3 separate regions of the Homo sapiens genome follow, and all the other regions are linked to region 2. Evidence: promoter capture Hi-C in 16 types of primary human blood cells and fetal thymus (Javierre and others, 2016). All regions are on one chromosome and are shown on one strand. The core of a region is centred on a gene start or on the middle of the fragment in contact, and the rest is flanking DNA. Distances in the headings are between cores, read along the strand shown.

What was found. Contacts are between HindIII fragments. The CHiCAGO score rates a contact against its expected background, and 5 or more counts as called.
Region 1: a fragment that was not itself captured here is called in contact with the fragment with the promoter of CYGB in region 2 in 1 of 17 cell types (total B cells); the score reaches 5.2 in total B cells.
Region 3: a contact is called between a fragment that was not itself captured here and the fragment with the promoter of CYGB in region 2, in 9 of 17 cell types (naive CD4 T cells, naive CD8 T cells, erythroblasts and 6 more). The highest score is 6.4, in naive CD4 T cells.

What each region holds. Positions count from the first base shown.
Region 1 is chr17:76,336,860-76,339,559 of GRCh38, forward strand. All of the region lies in intron 3 of PRPSAP1 (phosphoribosyl pyrophosphate synthetase associated protein 1), which reads right to left. It also overlaps the pseudogene RNU6-24P. Among named protein-coding and RNA genes, the nearest start is that of PRPSAP1, 16 kb to the right of the region's middle. The HindIII fragment of the contact is 279 bases long and covers 1,139-1,417 here.
Region 2 is chr17:76,536,372-76,539,071 of GRCh38, forward strand. CYGB (cytoglobin) reads right to left here and starts at 1,338. Exons shown (of 4, transcript NM_134268.5): 1 at 1,029-1,338. The coding sequence starts at 1,171. It also overlaps a transcript of PRCD not described here. The HindIII fragment of the contact is 9,970 bases long and covers 367-2,700 here.
Region 3 is chr17:76,689,213-76,691,958 of GRCh38, forward strand. The region is part of intron 1 of MXRA7 (matrix remodeling associated 7); the gene reads right to left. Among named protein-coding and RNA genes, the nearest start is that of MXRA7, 20 kb to the right of the region's middle. The HindIII fragment of the contact is 6,738 bases long and covers 1-2,746 here.

The DNA of each region.
Region 1 (2,700 bases), core at 28-2,527, 200 kb before region 2:
GAAAGGTGACAAAAGGGGCTTTGTCACATTGGCTTTACCCATTCACTGAGAGATACCGGACAAATTGGACACCAGGCAGTTACTTTGTGAACTAGCAGGGCGAAGGGAAATCGGCTGGCAGTCTCTGCTTTATCTGTTCCCTAAGAATGTTGCAAGTACACCCTGGCTAGCTCTTGTAGTCTTTATCTCTAAGTAGGACATTCTTAATTGTTTTACCAACTACTTTTCTTTCTTTTTTTTAAATAGAGAAAGGTCTCACCATGTTGCCCAGCTGGTCTTGTACTCCTGGGCTCAGGCAATCCTCCCGCCTTGGCCTCCCAAAGTGCTGGGAGTACAGCTTGAGCCATCATGCCCAGACAACCAACTACTTTTCTTTCCCCTAAGAAAACCACATCCTATATTAAGTCCAGCCCTTACTGCTCTAGCATTTTGGACAGGCAAAAACTAACCTGAGGTGTGCTCTCTTCAGCAGCACATATACTAAAATTGGAATGATACAGAGAAGATTAGCATGGCCCCTGTGCAAGGATGACACGCAAATTCGTGAAGTGTTCCATATTGGAAAACAACAACAACAACAACAACAACAAACTAACCTGAGATGAGGAAACAGGCATGGTATACGCATTCATTAAACTAGCCAGGCTCGCAAAAAGAGAAACCACACCACAGCTGGAAGTAATGGGGGAGAATTTACCCTGCTCCCAACTGTAACAATTAATCATCTGCAGCAGCTGGGAATTTTTTGTTGTTGTTTTGAGACTGAGTCACTCTGTCACCCAGGCTGGAAGGCGAGAGTGCAGTAGCACCATCTTGGCTCACTGCAACCTCTGCCTTCCGGGTTCAATCGATTCTCCCACCTCAGCCTTCCGAATATCTGGGATTACAGGCACCTGCCACCATGCCTGGTTAATTTTTTGTATTTTTAGTAGAGACGGGGTTTCACCATGTTGGCTAGTCTGGTCTCAAACTCCTGACCAACTGATCCACCTGCCTCGGCCTCCCAAAGTGCTGGGATTACAGGTGTGAGCCACCGTGCCCAGCTGTAAATGTTATTTTAATGAGTCTGCTTACTTTACATCAACACACTAGAACTTGTACATAAACATAAAAATTAACCTTTAAAATATACTTCATAAGCTTCATATTTTACTTAGTTCCATTGCTTGGTATATCTGGAAAATCTCTGAGTATCGCACAGTTCAATTACCCAAAATAATCATTTTGTTCTGAATGGCTTTTTGCCATTTCCAAAAATTAAACCTATCCTCAACGACCAAAAGGTTGCTATTATTAGAACAGTCAAAAGAAATATGCTGCAAGTTTGGAAGCAGTAGTTCCAAAGCTATTCCAAGCAAAAACAGCACCAAAAAAAGGTATCTATGTGATTTTAGAACAACAGCTCTGAAGGCAACTAAGCTTATTTTAATGTCTAAGCTTTGGTCTGTTTGCCTAAAATTAGCCTTATTACTTTAGGCAATGCCCCCTTCCTCCCAACAACAGAAAAACCTGTAAAAGATATTCCTTCATCTATGTAACCGCAGATAATATTAAAAAACCAGGTCGGGCACAGTGGCTCATGCCTGTAATCCTAACATTCTGGGAGGCTGAGGCAGGTGAATCACCTAAGGTCAGGAGTTCGAGACCAGCCTAGGCAACATGGAGAAACCCCATCTCTACTAAAAATACAAAAATTAGCTGGGTGTGGTGGTGTGCACCTGTAATCCCAGCTACTCAGGAAGCTGAGACAGGAGAATTGCTTGAACCCAGGAGGCAGAAGTTGCAGTAAGCCGAGATTGTGCCACTGCACTCCAACCTGGGCAACACAGCAAGACTCCGTCTCAAAAAATAAATAAAATAAAATATAAAATATAAAATAAAATAAAAAATTAGGCCAGGCATGGTGGCTCATGCCTGTAATCCCAGGACTTTGGGAGGCCGAGGTGGATGGATCACCTGAGGTCAGGGGTTCAAAACCAGCCTGGCCAACATGGTAAAACCCCATCTCTACTAAAAATACAAAATTAGCCAGGCATGGTGGTACATGCCAGTAATCCCAGCTACTCGGGAGGCTCAGGCAGGAGAATCACTTGAACCTGGAAAGTGGAGGTTGCAGTGAGCCAAGGTCACACCACTGCACTCCAGCCTGGGCAACAAGAAAGAAACTCGTCTCAAAAAAAAAATTAAATTAAATTAAATTATCTGTGTTCTTTAGTTGGTACTAAAGTATCCAGTACTCAAGCACTACAAAAACTAGTTTATTGACTGGGCACGGTGGCTCACGTCTATAATCTCAGCACTTTGGGAGGCCAAGGCGGGTGGATCACCTGAGGTCAGGAGTTTGAGACCATTCTGGTCAACACTGTGAAACCCCGTCTCTACTAAAAATACAAAAATCAGCTGGCTGTGGTGGCACACGCCTATAATCCCAGCTACTCAGGAGGCTGAGGCAGGAGAATTGCTTGAACCTGGGAGGCAGAGGTTGCAGTGAGCCGAGATCACGCCACTGCACTCCAGCCTGGGCAACACAGCAAGCCTCCGTCTCAAAAAAACAACAAAAAGAACCAGTTTATTGTGACAAACCTAATAACCTTCTTTATGGGCTGCACACCCACACAAAACAACACATCCAACCTGTCTTTTTTCCAAATTTTTCCTTTCTTCTTCCATCCCTATCAGCTTAAGAGACAGAGAAAATGC
Region 2 (2,700 bases), core at 88-2,587:
GGCTTCACCCCATCTGCACATGACAAGGCTGCCCTGCTCTGTCCTAGATTTGACCGCTTTCCTCTGCCAAGAAGAGGGGCTTGAGGGTGAGCATGGTCTGGGGCTCCTCTGCCTGCACCCCCAGGGACCAGCACGTGTGGAAAGAGAGCATGGATTTGTAGCTAGAGTCAGTGACTAGCTTTCGAGACTTGGACACATCACCTCTATAAGGATGGTGTGTGTGCTCTAAGCCTAGGTGTGTGAAGAACGGGGCGCTCTGTGTTTGTGGGTCTCTTGGGGGCATGTAGTGCCTGAATGACCCCTAAGCCCAAGCCACTGCATTTCCTCCCTAGGTGGGAGGTTTTAGGGTTAGGCCCTGTCTCCTGAAGCTTCTCTCTTCTTCCCCTCACCCTCCAAACTCAGCAGGGATTGTATCCTAGGGGACTGTTTGCTTCTCCACTCACCTGTGCCTGCCCTGGGCGCTCCTGCTGGCCCGTGCCCTCCAGCGGGAAGGGGGCAGCTGGGAACACTGGACCCCCCGGGCTCTCCTCTTTCTCAACCTCTGCTCTTTGCTCTCTGTTCTTCCAAGAGGCTTTGAATCCCGCAAGCCGCTGAGCTGGAGACAGGGTTCTGCTCCTCTTTGTCCCGCTTCTTGGCTGAGCCTCGGTTTTCCCATCTCTAAAATGGGGAGCCCCTGCTATACTACCTTTGAAAGGCCAGAAAAATGTGTGTGTCTGACAGTTTGGCTGGGTGTCTGGGGTGGCTGGCCGAGCAAGGAGTTCTGAGGCCGGGGAGAGGAGGGGGACCGAGGTGCTCTCCTGCATCTGGTTCCTAGATCCTGGTGAACACCGCGCCGGAGCCAGGGAAGGCTCAACCCAGGCTTCGTTCACCCCAAGGCGCCCCACGCCGCCTGCTCCGCCGACCTCGGACCGGCCCCATTCGCGGCTGGGGAGGTGGCGCTGGAGCTCGGACCCGGGCCCAGCCCTCCTCTGCCCGGAGCCGCTGCCGCCCTCCCTGCCCAGGGCCCGGCCGGGCCGGGCGACACCTACCTCACCAGGATGGCCACCCCCACGTCCTCGCAGTTGGCATAGAGCCGGGCCCACATAGCCTGCACCGCCTTCCTCTCCGCCTCGGACAGCTCCTCGCTCCGCTCCCTGCGCTCGATCTCCATCTCGCCTGGCACTTTCTCCATGAGCAGCTCCAAGCCCAGCCCGGCTTTGCTCGGCGGCGGCGGTGGCGGGGCGCGGGGCGCGGGGCGCGGGGCGCCGGGAGCCGGGGCCGGCTGCGTGCGCGGCGGGCGGGCGAGGGGTAGAGCGCGGAGGGAGGGAGCGTGTGTCTGTGCGCGCCGGGTGTGTGTGTGTGTGTGCGTGCGTGTGTGCAGGGTATATGTGCGGGGGGCGGGGGACAGCCAGCGGTGGGGCGGGGATGTGGTCTGCTGGAAAATGTTTAAAAAAACAAATCCGCTCCAAACCCCCAGCCCCGTGTGGGTAAGAGCCAATGCCGGCAAGGTGAAGGCTGCGCGGGGTGGGGGCGACGCGACTGCCGCCCGCCCACCCGCAGGCCACGGCGGAGTTGCACCGCGGGGCGGGGCTCGGGTAGGTGTGGCCGGGGCGCTGGGGGTCCCGGGAGGAATGGGCGGTCACGCGGCGCTGGGCGGCGCGGGCCGCACAGGAGTGCGCTGGGGCGGGCGCGGGCCGGGAGCGCTGGGTTCCGGGTCCCAGTGCTTGCGGCGTCGCGAGTGTGCGCGTGCGGACCCTTCCCGCGGCGGGGAACTGACTCAAAGTCCAACACTCCCGAGCTTTCGCGGCGAGGCCGACCGCCAGCCCGCCCGTGGGGGCGAACAGGAGCCCCTCCGGCGGCCGCCGTGGACCTAGCTGGGCTCCCCTCGCCCGGGCCTCTCCCCGCGCCCCCGAGCCAGCCGCTGGGGGCCGCGGCGCCACTCCCACGGCTCTGGACGCCCAGGCTCTGGGGGGTTAGCACGGGGGTCGTCCCCCTGCCCGCCCACCGCCCCGGCTGTCGGAACTTGAGCGCACCTCCGACCTCGGGCGCCAGAGGCCTGCGCCCCCTCTCCTTCCGCCCAGCACCTCCATGCCCTCGGTGCACGAACGCGGCGGCGGCGGCCAGAAGTCCCCCGTGGCTTATGAATGACACGGACAGGCAAGAACCAGCCGCTGCCCTGAATTCTAGCCCAGCTGGTGGCGGAGGAAGTCCAGAGAGGCACCGGATAGGGCAGACAGGACCTGGCAGACAAAAAGTCTTGAGGAAGGCGCAGGCTGCTGGGGACATCTCAGCCGCCACCAAGGGCCCGATTCCGGGCCTGGGGGAGGCAAATCCTTCCTCCTGGTGGGCCCTATCCAGGGCAGTGTGAGATTGGGCCAGAGGTGGGGGGAGAATCCCATGGTGCCTGCCCTGCAGCGGCTGCTCAGTCCTGGGGACAGCCTGAGGCCAGACAGGGCCTGGCAGTGTTGGGAAGAGATGTCACTCAGGCTCCCGGCGACCCCTGTCCTCGCTCAAGACTTGATGTCCCATTGCCCAAGCATTGCTAAGGGTTGGCTCTGCGCTTTCACTATGGTTCATGTATTTATTCTTAAAATCCGACTTTAAGGTCCGGGGGAGGCGAGGAGAACTCACCCTGGCCAGCCTCAGCTGCAGCCTGGGCCCCTCCTGGGAGCTCAGGGTTCAGGTGCCTGGGGGACCCTGAGGCAGTGCCTCTGACACTGT
Region 3 (2,746 bases), core at 124-2,623, 150 kb after region 2:
CCGAGTAGCTGGGATTACGGGCGCCCGCCACCCAAGCCCAGCTAATTTTTTTGTGTTTTCAGTAGAGATGGCATGTCACCATGTTGGCCGGGCTGGTCTCGAACCCCTGACCTCAGGTGATCCGCCTGCCTCGGCCTCCCAGAGTGTTGGGATTACAGGAGTGAGCCACTGTGCCTGGCCTGAGGGACTTCCTTGACTACACAAAATGCTGCCTGGGGGGAGCTGCGCAGGCAACACAGCGTCTTCCCTGTTGGGCACTTTGTACACACAGACTTAGTGCTATCTATGGCGAAGTGGTGCCTGTGTGTCCTGACGTTTCCCAAATTTTGCACAGCAAAGTATCTCTATGGCTGAGGTCGGAGTGGGCAGGCCTCTTCCGGGGGCAGGAAGAGGAGCCGCTCCATTTGACACAGCAAACCCACTTCTAGGGATCTGCTCCAGACTGGAGAAATGTCCATCAGGATTTTTATATAATGACTCTGACCGCGTGCAGTTGAAAAGACAGAACTGGGGACCGGGTGCGGTCGCTCACGCCTGTAATCCCAGAATTTTGGGAGGCCTAGGTGGGTGGATCAGCTGAGGTTGGGAATTCGAGACCAGCCTGGCCAACATGGCAAAACCCCGTCTCTACTAAAAATACAAAAAAAAATTAGCCGAGTGTTGTGGCAGGTGCCTTTAATCCCAGCTACTCAGGAGGTTGAGGCAGGAGAATCGCTTGAACCCGGGAGGTGGAGGTTGCAGTAAGCCAAGATTGCGCCATTGCACTCCAGCCTAGTGACACAGCAAGACTGCATCTTAAAAAAAGAAAAAAAAAAAAAAAGGAGGCGTTGATAGGTGCTGACATGAAAAGTACATCAAGATAAATCGAGGGAAAAATGCAAGCAGCAGCCCCACGTGAGCAGCGCAGTCATCTTGCTGTAAATGGCAAAGTGGAAATGCACGCATGTGCTCGAAAATGCAGAGAAAAGGTTTGTTTTTTGGAAGGGCCCACGAGAAACTGTCAGCAGTGGCTACCTCTTGGGAAAGGAGCTTGGGGGGCAGCTTTTCCTTTCCGTCTTATAGAGTTCAGTATAATTTGGACTTTCCATTAATATGCATGAATGACTAAATATATTTTTTAAATGCTAATGGTGTCTTTGGACAGTCAGATCCAAAGACCCCATTTTTTCTTTATTTATTTTCTTATATATTCTAAAAAAGAAAAAAAAAGTAAGAGGCCAGGTGTGGTGGCTCATGCCTGCAATCTCAGCACTTTGGGAGGCTGAGGTGGGAGGGCTGCTTGAGCCCAGAAGTTCAAGACCAGCCTGGCAACATAGTGCACACCTCGCCTCTACTGAAAATTTAAAAATTAGCTGTGCATGGTGGCACGCACCTGTGATCCCACCTACTTAGAAGGCTGAGGCAGAAGGATCACTTGGAAAAAAAAAAGTAGAAAGAATGTAACATCCTAAATATATATATATTTGGTTTCGGCCCCCAGTTCTTGACACAGTTTTTATTTTGTTTGTTTTTTGAGACAGGATCTTGCTCTGTTGCCCAGACTGGAGTGCAGTGGTGCAATCACGGCTCACTGCAGTCTTGACCTCCAGGGCTCAAGCGATCCTCCTGCCTCAGCCTCTGGAATAGCTGGGATCACAGGTGCATGCCACCATGCCCAGCCCTGACACTGAGCTCCTAAGTCCCTTGAATTTCCTAAGTTACAGGGGTGCTAGCAGCATGTTTTGTTCTAACATTTGGTTTTGATCCCAGTCCCTGGCACAGAGCTCCTAAGTCCGTTGGAATTTCCCGGGTGACAGGAGTGTCTTTTGTTCTAATGAGGTAACTCCTGGGTGGGCTGATCACCAGAGAGATCAAGCTGCAATGAGGAGCTTGGAACTTTCAGCCCCACCACCCCCCAGCTTCCTCCAGAGACTGGAGAGGAGCTGGAGATTGAGTTAAGAATCGATGACGCCTATGTGATGAGGCCTCCGTCAACATCCCGATAGGGTTTGGAGAGCTTCCAGGCTGCTGAATGCATTCCCGTGCGCAGGGGGTAGCGTACCCCAACTCCATGGGGACGGAAGCTCCTGCATTCAGGACCCTACTGGACCTTACTCTACTTAGGTACCTCCATCTGGCTGTTCATCTGTAGCCTTTATCACTTCCTTTCTAATAAACCAGTTAACATAAGTGCTTCCCTGAGCTCCGTAAGACGCTGTAGCAAATTACTCAACTTGAGGAGGGGTTCATGGAACCCTTGATTTGTAGGCAAGTAGGACCAAAGTGTGGGGAACGAGGGGACCTGATACTTGTGATTGGCCCCTGAAGTAGGGGGCAGTCTGTGGGACTGGGCCCTAACCTGTGGGGTCTGCACTGATTCCAGGCAGTTAATGTCAGAGTTGAACGGGAGGACACCCACTTGGTGTCTGGGTGGCTGGAGAAGGTGTTGGTTGCAGGGGTGGGGCTGGCTGCATATTTGGTATCAGAAGTGAAGGGTTCTGTGGAGTGTTGTGTGCATGGACAGAAAAACAGTTGGTTTTTCTCATGGTTGATGTCTCTCTTTAATGACAGGCAAACAGTCACTGACCTATTCAGGGCACGGCCCCGGAACTAAGCCCAATATCAAGAATAGACAGGAGGCCAGTTCTCCTATTATGTGCAAAGGACACAAAGATTAAATGAAAAACAACAGCAACAATGAGCACAGTCCCTGCCTTACGGAGCTCGTGGTCCAGTAGGAAAGACAAACAAATAATTGCACTCCAGG